3 separate regions of the Homo sapiens genome follow, and all the other regions are linked to region 2. Evidence: promoter capture Hi-C in 16 types of primary human blood cells and fetal thymus (Javierre and others, 2016). All regions are on one chromosome and are shown on one strand. Each heading gives the region's core, a stretch centred on a gene start or on the middle of the fragment in contact. The rest is flanking DNA. Distances are from core to core; before and after follow the strand shown.

The links. Contacts are between HindIII fragments. The CHiCAGO score rates a contact against its expected background, and 5 or more counts as called.
Region 1: a contact is called between the fragment with the promoter of LINC02090 here and the fragment with the promoter of FLCN in region 2, in 16 of 17 cell types (naive B cells, endothelial precursors, total B cells and 13 more). The highest score is 12.5, in naive B cells.
Region 3: a fragment that was not itself captured here is called in contact with the fragment with the promoter of FLCN in region 2 in 1 of 17 cell types (non-activated CD4 T cells); the score reaches 5.2 in non-activated CD4 T cells.

Annotation. Positions count from the first base shown.
Region 1 is chr17:16,986,528-16,989,581 of GRCh38, forward strand. LINC02090 (long intergenic non-protein coding RNA 2090) reads left to right here and starts at 1,802. Exons shown (of 3, transcript NR_146886.1): 1 at 1,802-1,996; 2 at 2,388-2,523. RefSeq lists enhancers at 462-1,292, 1,925-2,144. The HindIII fragment of the contact is 6,040 bases long and covers 824-3,054 here.
Region 2 is chr17:17,235,898-17,239,178 of GRCh38, forward strand. It overlaps FLCN (folliculin), which reads right to left and starts at 1,271. Exons shown (of 14, transcript NM_144997.7): 1 at 1,015-1,271. RefSeq lists an enhancer at 1,488-1,597 and a silencer at 2,032-2,217. The HindIII fragment of the contact is 3,806 bases long and covers 1-3,281 here.
Region 3 is chr17:17,095,496-17,098,832 of GRCh38, forward strand. The region is part of intron 3 of MPRIP (myosin phosphatase Rho interacting protein); the gene reads left to right. Among named protein-coding and RNA genes, the nearest start is that of MPRIP, 55 kb to the left of the region's middle. RefSeq lists an enhancer at 193-779. The HindIII fragment of the contact is 1,986 bases long and covers 378-2,363 here.

The sequences.
Region 1 (3,054 bases), core at 552-3,051, 250 kb before region 2:
TTTGAGAGATCTGGATGACTCATCTCATCATAAGCCCAGGGCCCTTGGAGCTTGAGGGCAGAATGATTTGGGGGGATGGGCCAGGGGCTGGCTGCCTTGGGTCTCTACTCCTTGTGTTTTGGCACGATGCTCCTTGGCCACCCCAGCTGTGGCTCAAATGGGCCCAGGTGTGGCTTGGGCTGCTGCTCCAAAGGGTGCAAGCTGTGAGCCTTGGCAGCATGCATGTGTTGCTAATTCTGCAGGCACACAGAGTGCAAGAGCTTTGGGGGTATGGCTGCCTCCCCTTGAATTCAAAGAATGCCACAGAGGGATAGCCCCCATTAGGGCAATGCCCACCAGAATTGTGAGGTTGGGTCTAAAACTAAGACAGGCCCTAAGTACCCGGAGTCATCCTTGACTTCTCTTTCTCTCCCTGTCTCCTTCCCTTCCACCAATCCATTAGCAAACACTGTTGGCTTTACGTTCAAAATATGACCAAAATCATCTGAGCACTTACCACCTTCAGGCCTGCTTCAAGCCACCCCCTACCAGCCCCTTCTCAGAGGCCCCCCCACCCCCAGGTGCCATGTACTCTGTTAGCACCTGAGCCACAGCTGAGCCCTCCACTGCCCAGGAACCTCTGCCACTCCCCAGCTGCTCTGACTAAACACTGGATCTTTATAATGGCCCTGGGCCTTGAACCTGGGCCTTCTCTCCCTGAGCCCTCTGCCACTCTCCCCTGCTCACACCAGGCCAATGCTGACAACTTCCCCTCTGTGCTGTTCCGCTGCCTGGAATGCTCTCTGCCCAGATGTGTGCTTGGGTGACTGCTTGCCTCCCAGGAAGCTTGCCCAAATCTTGCCTCCTCAGTTAGGACAGCCCCGGCCATTCATCTCAAAGGCAAGGGGCACAGAGTATGGGCTCAGTACACGTATGGGGGAGGAGGGAGGGAGGGAGGTGGAGAGGGAGGAGGAGGAAGGGAGGAATGCACAGGCCATTTCATTCCAGCGAGAACAGGTCACAAGGCACACCCAAAAGCAACCCGGGTGGTACAAAACTAAAGATGACCGAAGGCCACCATGAACAGGCGGGAGAGGGCAGCTCTGTTCATCACCCCTGGGGCAGATGTGGAGACTCCAGATGTGTCACATCTGGACAGCCCCTTCTCTGCCCCTTCCTACCCCCTGCCCCGCCCATCCACCAGGGGTTCAAGACAATACAGGAGACAGTTGTCCTCCTCCCAGGACCCTGAGAATGGCTGGGGCTGGGGAAGATGCTCAGTGGCCTTTGAAACTCAGCTTAATTTTGCGCCAAACGGGTGACCCTGCCACCCCCATGAAAAGGCAGAGCACTAGAATGAGAGTCCAGACTATGGACTCTAGTCCTCTTGATGTCCCAAGCTCAGCATGTGACCTCAGACTAGGCACTTAGCCTCTGTGGGCCTCAGTTTCCCCTTCTGTCCAAATCAGGGGGGTTGGAATGTGGTCACCCAACTAAAAGCCCACTCTATACACTGAGCGTCTACAAATACAAGGAACACAGAGTTGATTTGTTAGGAAACCCATCACGTCCATCCTGACCTAGATGGGTTTCACTCTGACGTTGTGCAGTCAAATGCTCTACCCCTGAGCTACACCCCCTACTCTGACGTTGTGACCGCTGCACCTGGGCTGATTGTACCCCAGACCAGGGGCAATGTCACCTGGCACCACCCTTTCCCACTACTCTTCCCTCTCGAGAGAGACTGGGGTTTCACACAGAGCAGTCGAGCCCCATAAATAGCAGCTGGCCACTCACAGGCCAACCCTCCCAGGCCCCAAAAAGGAAGTGAGAGACAGGCAGACACTTCTGTTCTTCCTGCAGAAAGTGCTGCTTCTGCAGTGACTCGTCAGATGCTCCCCAGAGCCCAGCACAGACCCGGCTCCACCCACTTCTGTGGGTTGGCCAGATGAGTGAGAAACACAGGCACAGCCAACGAGAGGGAGCTGAGGCCGGACCCAGGAGTCTTTTTCCTATGGTAGGGGATATCTCTGTGTGAGGAAGCCCCATGGGGAGTCCTTGGGTGAGTTGCCAGGAGGAGGTGACTCAGGATAAATTCCCTTAGGAGGTGCCTTCACTTCTAGATCCAAAGAGTCATCCCCTACCTCCTTAGGGTAAAACTAGATTTTGAGTATCACGGTGTTTGTGGATAACCTGGCCCCAGTGAGTCCCCTTGCAAGGGCCTTTGGAGATGCTTCTGCACATGGACACTAGGAGCCATGAGCAGAGACAGTCCCTGCAGCAGCATCTGAAACCATGAACCCCAGGAAGACAACGTGGCACTGTTTTTGTCAGCCCTGCCTACGCTTTGCTAAAGTCTGTCCATTCAGCTCTTTTTCATGTTGACCGCACCACTGTTTCCTGCCCAGGTCCTGCCTGATATAGTAACCGGGAAAGGGATGAATGTGATGCAATGTGCTCTTGTAATGGAGCATCACAGAACAGGTCAAAGACACAAGCCACACAGCAACGAGCGCGGACAGGCAGGGCAGAGCACAGCTGCACGTAAGTACATTTTAAACACGGACCCCAACATAGCACTAGACATTGTTCATAATGCCTCCCTACATATGTAAAACACAAAAGTGGATTGGAGACACACAGAGGGGAGACTGCAGGCACCTCAGCCTCTCATCCCTCTTCTCATCAGGCCATTTCTGCTCTGCACCAGCGGTTCTCAACCAAAGTGCTTCTGCCTTCACTGTCAGGAGACATGTGGCCATGCTGGGGACATCTGGGGTGTCTCAATGATGGGGGTGGGAGGGATTGCTACTGGCATCTGGGGGTAGAGGCCAGGGATGTTCCCAACCATCCTAGGATGCAAGGGACAGCCCCACCACAAAGCAGGTGTGGCCCCAGCTCGTTCACAGCTGTCTACTTCCTCCTGGCGTAGCTGTGCAACTTGTACAACCACAAGCAACACGTATTTGTTTTACAAGGAACTCACTGGAGACAGCACCCAGTCTGAGAACTTTGTACTATGGAAGGGTTTTGTTTTTGAAAACCGAAATTACAGAATAAATTACAGAGAGAGAG
Region 2 (3,281 bases), core at 21-2,520:
ATTCAAATTCCCTGATGTGGTAGAGTGTCTGTTCATGTCCCCCTCCCACAATGGCTGAGTCCCAGACCTGGACAGTGACCTCACCACCACCCGTGGTGCGCCCTGGCCCTATTTCAACCCTACTTCCTATGGTGTTCTCATAGCACCGTGGAGAATTAAAGAGGCCACTAAGTAAGGGCACTCTAAATAAACAAAGCACTATAACGGATCTTAACCAGCAGTGGACACACAGCTTCTATAACTAGTCTCCCACTGGGGAGCCTCATTAAGTTAGCAGCTGGGATCCCAACAAGCCCAGGGTGAAAAGTTCTGCAGGGGATGACTGCCAGTTCAGATCCACTCTCACTGTGGCTCTATTTCCACCGTTTCCCTGGATTTCCATTCACAGAGCTCCCTGACATAGGACACTAGAAGGGCAAACGCAGTGTCACCTGCCACTATTACTCAATTACTTGATGACCACGGTGATAATCTGGCACTAAACTGGCTGTGGCCAAAGGCTAGAGAGCCAGAACCTACTTCCAGCAAGCTCCTCCTTGCCCTGTGTCCCCACTTGAAGAGACTGCTAGTGACCACACCTTGGACTTCAATCCACAAGCCAATCCATTCTTTCCAGGAGACAAGGACGCGACTGACAGTACTCTCAACTGGAGAGAAGCGCGGTCTTCCACCCTCCCTGGAGGACACGGTGCTACCCTATTAGCGCATCAGAGGACCCTCCTGAACGCCAAACTGGGAGAAGAGGATGACACACACCCTCTCCTCCAAACAGAGCGAAGACAAAACCTGGGAGAAGGGAAGGCAAACAGTCCCGTTTCATGGCAACATCAAATGAGATCACAGTCCTCATCCCCATAGACTTGGTTAATGGGCGTGCCCCCAACCTATCTTCAAATCTCAGGGTCTCGGCGACGCCCTGGACTCTGGCCCTAAACCCTCCCCCATTACTCGTCCACCTGGGACCAACGAAAACTCGGACATGCCCCTCCGCCAACCCCTCAGACCCCCGCCTACCTGCTCCCCAAATCGAGGCCCGCGGGACACCTGGACTCGGCAGCCGGGGTCCCGCTCTGGGTCCCAGCCCCGCCCCTGACTGCGCTGGGTAGGTGGTCGCTGCGGGACCCGGACCGGCGGAATCACACCCAGAGCCCCCAAGCCCACGGCAGGGATGTCACCCGGGGTGGCGAGGCTCTCAAGCCCGGGTTCAGGCTCTCAGGGGAGCTGGCAGAACCAGGAGCGACCACACTCACTCGCGGTCCCGCAGCCCCGCCGACACCCAGGCGCGTGACTCCCTGAGCCGTACCACCACCCAACACTGCGGTGGGGGTGCGGGAGCCGTCCGAGCGCGTCCTGCACCGCGAGGAGAGCCGGGCCTCCCTAGCTCTCGCAAGCCCAGGAACACAGTCCGAGTCCTACAACTCCGAGGTCTGACTGGGAAGCAGGGGCCGCTGCCCGACAATTACCCTTTTCCACCGCCCCTATTCCGGTGCCCCCCTCTGGGAAGTTCCGAATGGTTCAGACCGCACCAGCTGGGGATGCTGGGGGAAACCATTTCATTAAGCGCGGGAGTATGCTGAAACTTAAAAATCATTTTAAAAAGAGATTTGAGGGTAAATATAGCCAACCTAAGGCTTCCTGTCCACATAAAAGAGAAAAATAAAGAAAAAACGTTATAAGAGGTTGGCAGGCTTTTTTTTTTTGCTTCACCAATGGTTTTTATTAAATTGCTGATGGAACCCGTCCTCTCCCTACATTGAGAGTATGGAAGGTGCGGGAGACGGCCGTCACGTGACGCGGAGAAGGCGCGGCGCCCGTGGGAGGTTGGTTGCAGAACTCGGAACCGCTGTGCGCGCGCATGTGTGGGATTCGGTCTTCCTCCCTCAGTGGGTCTTTTTTAAAAATGTGAAAATCAGTTTTTGAATAATATTCTTTTTTTGAGACAGAGTTTCGCTTTCGCTCTTGTTGCCCAGGCTGGAGTCCAGTGGCGCGACCTCGCCTTACTGCAACCTCCGCTTCCCGGGTTCAAGCGATTCTCCTGCCTCAGCCTCCCGAGTAGCTGGGGACTACAGGCGTCCGCCACCACGCCTGGCTAATTTTTTGTATTTTTGCAGAGACGGGTTTTCACCCTTTTGGCCAGGCTGGTCTTGAACTCCTAACCTCAGGTGATCCACCAGCCTCGGCCTCCCAAAGTGCTGGGATTACAGGCGTGAGCCACCGCGCCCGGCCTGAATAATATTTTTTAAAACTAGAGCGCCCATTACTAAATTTAGCTACTTAGAAGTTAATTGTAAAGCCATTAGTTTGTGATGTAGTGTGGGTCCTTCCAGTGAAGACCGGAGAGAGATGGGAATCAGAGCCTGACCCGCCTGTGCGCGCTGCCCCCTGAGGTGTGGCTGCCCCCTGAGGTGTGGCCGCCCCGGAGCCTTCCGCCGCGGCCGAGGCTATGGTTGCCGCAGAGTCTCCAGAATGTGCTCACCAGGAATAGAATAGAAAAGTGGGTGGTTGTGTTTTTGAAATCAGAAGTCACTTATTTTTTTCTCTTTAAATTTCCATGTTCTGGTCGGGCGCGGTGGCTCACGCCTATAATATCCCAACACTTTGGGAGGCCGAGGTGGGCGGATTACGAGGTAAAGAGATGGAGACCATCCTGGCCAACAGGTGAAACCCCCTCTCTACTAAGAATACAAAAAAAATTAGCTGGGCGTGGTGGCACACGCCTGTAGTCCCAGCTACTCTGGTGGCTGAGGCAGGAGAATTGCTTAAACCCGGGAGGCAGAGGTTGCAGTGAGCTGAGATCGTGCCACTGCACTCCAGCCTGGCACAGAGCGAGACTCCATCTAAAAAAAAAAAAAAAAATCCATGGTCTGTTGAAAACGGGACACGAGAAAAGAACGAAAGTGCAGCTTGTGTTTTCTGCCGTCTTATAGTGGCTTGGTAAAGATTAAGGAATATGGGGTGGCGTTACGAGGTTAGGCATTGCCTTTATGTGTTTAATTATTCTTATCAAGCGAATTCCTCTTGCTGTTGGACAGCGCAAACTTAATTTCTGAGGAGGTAGTAAGTTACAGGGTGATTTTATTTTATTTTATTTTAGAGACGGAGTCTTGCTATGTCTCCCAGGCTGGAGTGCAGTGGCGCGATCTCGGCTCACTGCTACCTCCACCTCCCGGGTTCAAGTTCTTGAAACTAATGTTTGTTAATGAGATTTTTAAGTCAAGAACAAGGTTTTTTTCACCTTGTAACTTTAATTCCAGGAATTACCTTTTTCAGTTTGTTAGTGG
Region 3 (3,337 bases), core at 121-2,620, 140 kb before region 2:
AGGAATTCTCTCATCTCCAATCTAGGAAGACCTGTGGGCAGCAGAAGGGCTTGGGATGAGGGACTCAACTTTTAGGATGCAGACTTTCTTGGACTTTTCCTGCTGTTAGTCCTTCACCCCTACTTCCCCTGCCCCCTCAGCTGTGCCTGCTGCCCCTGACTCTAGGGGCCCTCCTAGGGCAACCCTCCGTGCTGGTCAGTATATAGGATTCTCTGGCCAGAGCCAAGCCCTGGGATCTGCCTGCCCTTGTACGGGTGCTGATCAGTTCTCCTGCTCTCAGCCCTGCCCCTGCTGTTGGAGTCCCCTCTGCCCCCAGGCCCTGAGCTTTCTGGTGTCTGCAGCAGTGCCAGCCTGCCTCCTCCTAGCTGTCCTCAGGAAGCTTCTTCCATGCCACCAGGCCACTTTCCATGTATCCAGCCACTTCCCACTCAAAGTTTACTTGATATCTTATATCTGCTCTTGTCTCCTCTCCAGCTTTTCATCCTTGAGAGTTTATACCTCCCCCCCACACACACTTTATGGTCATATTAATTAGGGTTTTAGCAGGCAATTGAACATTCTGGTGTGTTAAGTCACCTGTGTTTAACTGGAGGCCCCTCTGTGTGTCAGGAACTGGCCCGCAGCCTGTCGACACGTGTTGGTGTCCATCATGGGCATATCGTGCCTGCCTTGTACCCACCTGTTTCCATGCCACTGTTCCCTGTCCTTTCCCACACTGTCCCCTGTGTGGGTCATATTGTTGGTCTGGGCCTGTGTAGCTCTTTGTGCTTGGCAGGGTGTGTGTGTGTGCAGGGTGTGTGTGTGTGTGTGTGTGTGTGTGTGTGTGTGTGTGTGTGTGTGTGTGTGTCTCAGAGTCAATGCACATGCCTGCCAGGGGACCTGTGTGTGTTGGCATCCTGCATTAAATGTACCATCTATAATTTGCTCCAGTACCTTGGAGAAAATTTTATGAGGAAAAGATACTTTCATAAATAGTTGAAATTCCAGATTCTTCTGGTTGGAAACCCAAGGGTTAATGATGACTGTTGTTCCAGAAAGGTTGGAGGGAGAGGAGACAGTTTATCTCATTTCCCTCTGGTGAATAAGGCCATTTACTGATGGGGCCCAATCACCTACCTGGGACTAACAATAAGACCCTTGTTGTTGACTGGGCAGGTTCCACAGCTGATACTCCGGCTGCCTTGAGCAATACCATCAGGCAGATCTGGGGCTCAGCCCTGTCCTTACCCAGGGCCTCAGAGCACTAATATATTTTCCTTTTCCTCACTCCAGATGTCTTCCCAGTGACTCTCCTTGGGGCCTGGGGAAACCACAAGGGAGCTTGGATTCATTCACCCATTGCTGCCTTGCTGTGTGCCTCAGAGGGGCTCAGAGGTGGAAAATAAATATGAAAAAGCATCCTTGTCTTCTAGAATCTCGTCGGCTGCTGGGAAGACCAAGGGGCCAGCCATCGCAGGGAGCATAAGCACTGAGACAGGCACACGTGCCTGCCCGGCTATCGTAGCCAGGCTGGCAGCCTTGCAACTCCCTGGGGAAGAACAATCTAGGAACATTCTGGGGTGTGGAGCAGGAAGGGAGTGTCACATGCAAAAGGCAGGATCAGCCAAAGCAGAGGGGCTGAAGAAGCAGTGATTCCCCCACCTAATGTCAGAAGTAAAATCAGTTCATGGTGAAAATTTGGGGAAACAAAATCATGCAGCAAAATTGCCTATTAAACCCCACACGGAGGTAAAAATCGGTTCATATTGTGGTTATGTATCTATTCTCTTATGATGTGTATTTATGTGCTTATGTAAGACCTAAAAACAATAATTTTTAAATAAACCAGTTATTTTTAATAAGAATATTCTGGCCAGGCATGGTGGTTCATGCCTGTAATCCCAACACTGTGGTAGGCCAAGGTGGGCGGATCGCTTGAAGCCAGGGGTTCCAGGCTGCGGTGAGCTAGGATTGCACTACTGCACTCCAGCCTGAGTGACAGAGGGAGACCCTGTCTCTTAAAAAAACAAAACAAATTCTATCTCACAATTCCTTTCCTATCCTTCTATGCATGGTCTTTAATAGCTACACCCCATTCCATTGGGTGGCTGTATTTGATTCCTTTATTCTGTACTTTCGGACATCCAAGTTGTTTTCAGATTTTTACTTTTTTAATATGATGCTTCAGAGAACATTCCTGGAAGTAATGTTGCCAGTGCAGAGGTGCAAGCATGTTTGAGACAGCTGATAGTTACCTCTGTCCAGAACTGGCTCACTCCCAACAGCAGCAGGAGGCACCCAGGGTCTCTCACTTTCCTTTCAATTTTCCTTTCTCCACATCCTACCCCCAGATTTGTCTGACTTTTCCAGAGGCTATTGAGAGAAGCTTTTTGAGTGAGGCACCACACAGATGTTTAAGACTAAGTTTGTGGTCTTTGAGAACCGAGGTAGCCTGACCCATTGGAAGCCTGCAGATAATTGAAAAAATCTTATTTTAGATCCTGTGTCATTCTTCTGCTATCAAACCAGAGCCAGCAGCAAAGGAAGCTGGGGGTGATGGGCCTTCATCCACCTGCCATGTTGCCTCCCTGCGCTGCTTCTGCCAAGAGTGGGCTGCTGGGGGTGTCCTGCTGGGGCCAGGCACCAGGGTTCCAATGCCAAGTAGTGGCATTCACGCACCTTTTGATAAGCGAGGAAACCGCTGGCAGCAGGAAGAAAGGTAAAGCAGCTCCAGGGAGCTCAGCGCTCAGCCTCAACCTCTTTCCCCAGAACCTGCGCCTGCCCACTCCACCTCCAAGGCCCCTCACTCTCCACCACCCATTTGGCCTTTTGGAATTGGGACTGGAATTGTTTCCAGCTCCAGAAGGCCCCTGCCTGCCTAATTCCCATGTCTCTAAAAATATCTGCAAGCCTCTTCCCACCCAGGCCTGTCCCCACAGAGCCCACTTCTCTCCCCCGACCCTCGGCTAGGGGAGGAAATGAGATCTCCCTCTCTTGACAGGATTAGAACGGAATAAATACGAAAGGCTGAGTTTCCAGAGTTGAAAGGGTAGGGCTGCCTTTGTCGGGTCCGGAGGGCTGGCGTGGCATCGGTGCAGGCCCACACTCGGAGGAGGGAATCCAGGAGAAAGAAGGAAGGGGAAAAGAGCAAGAACCCCTTTCTCCCCTCTGCATATGGGATGGCCAAGAGAAGCCAGGCCCTGCTGTGGGTCCCCGGTGGGAAAGAAGCTGGCTCCCAGGGCTCCCAAGCCCCAGCCACGCCTGGTCAGCACAGGCAAAAGGAGTCTGTGGGAAGCCTCCAACCTCCAGGCTGCCTGAGGCCCCTGGAGCTTTCTCAGGCATTCCTAGATTGGGACAG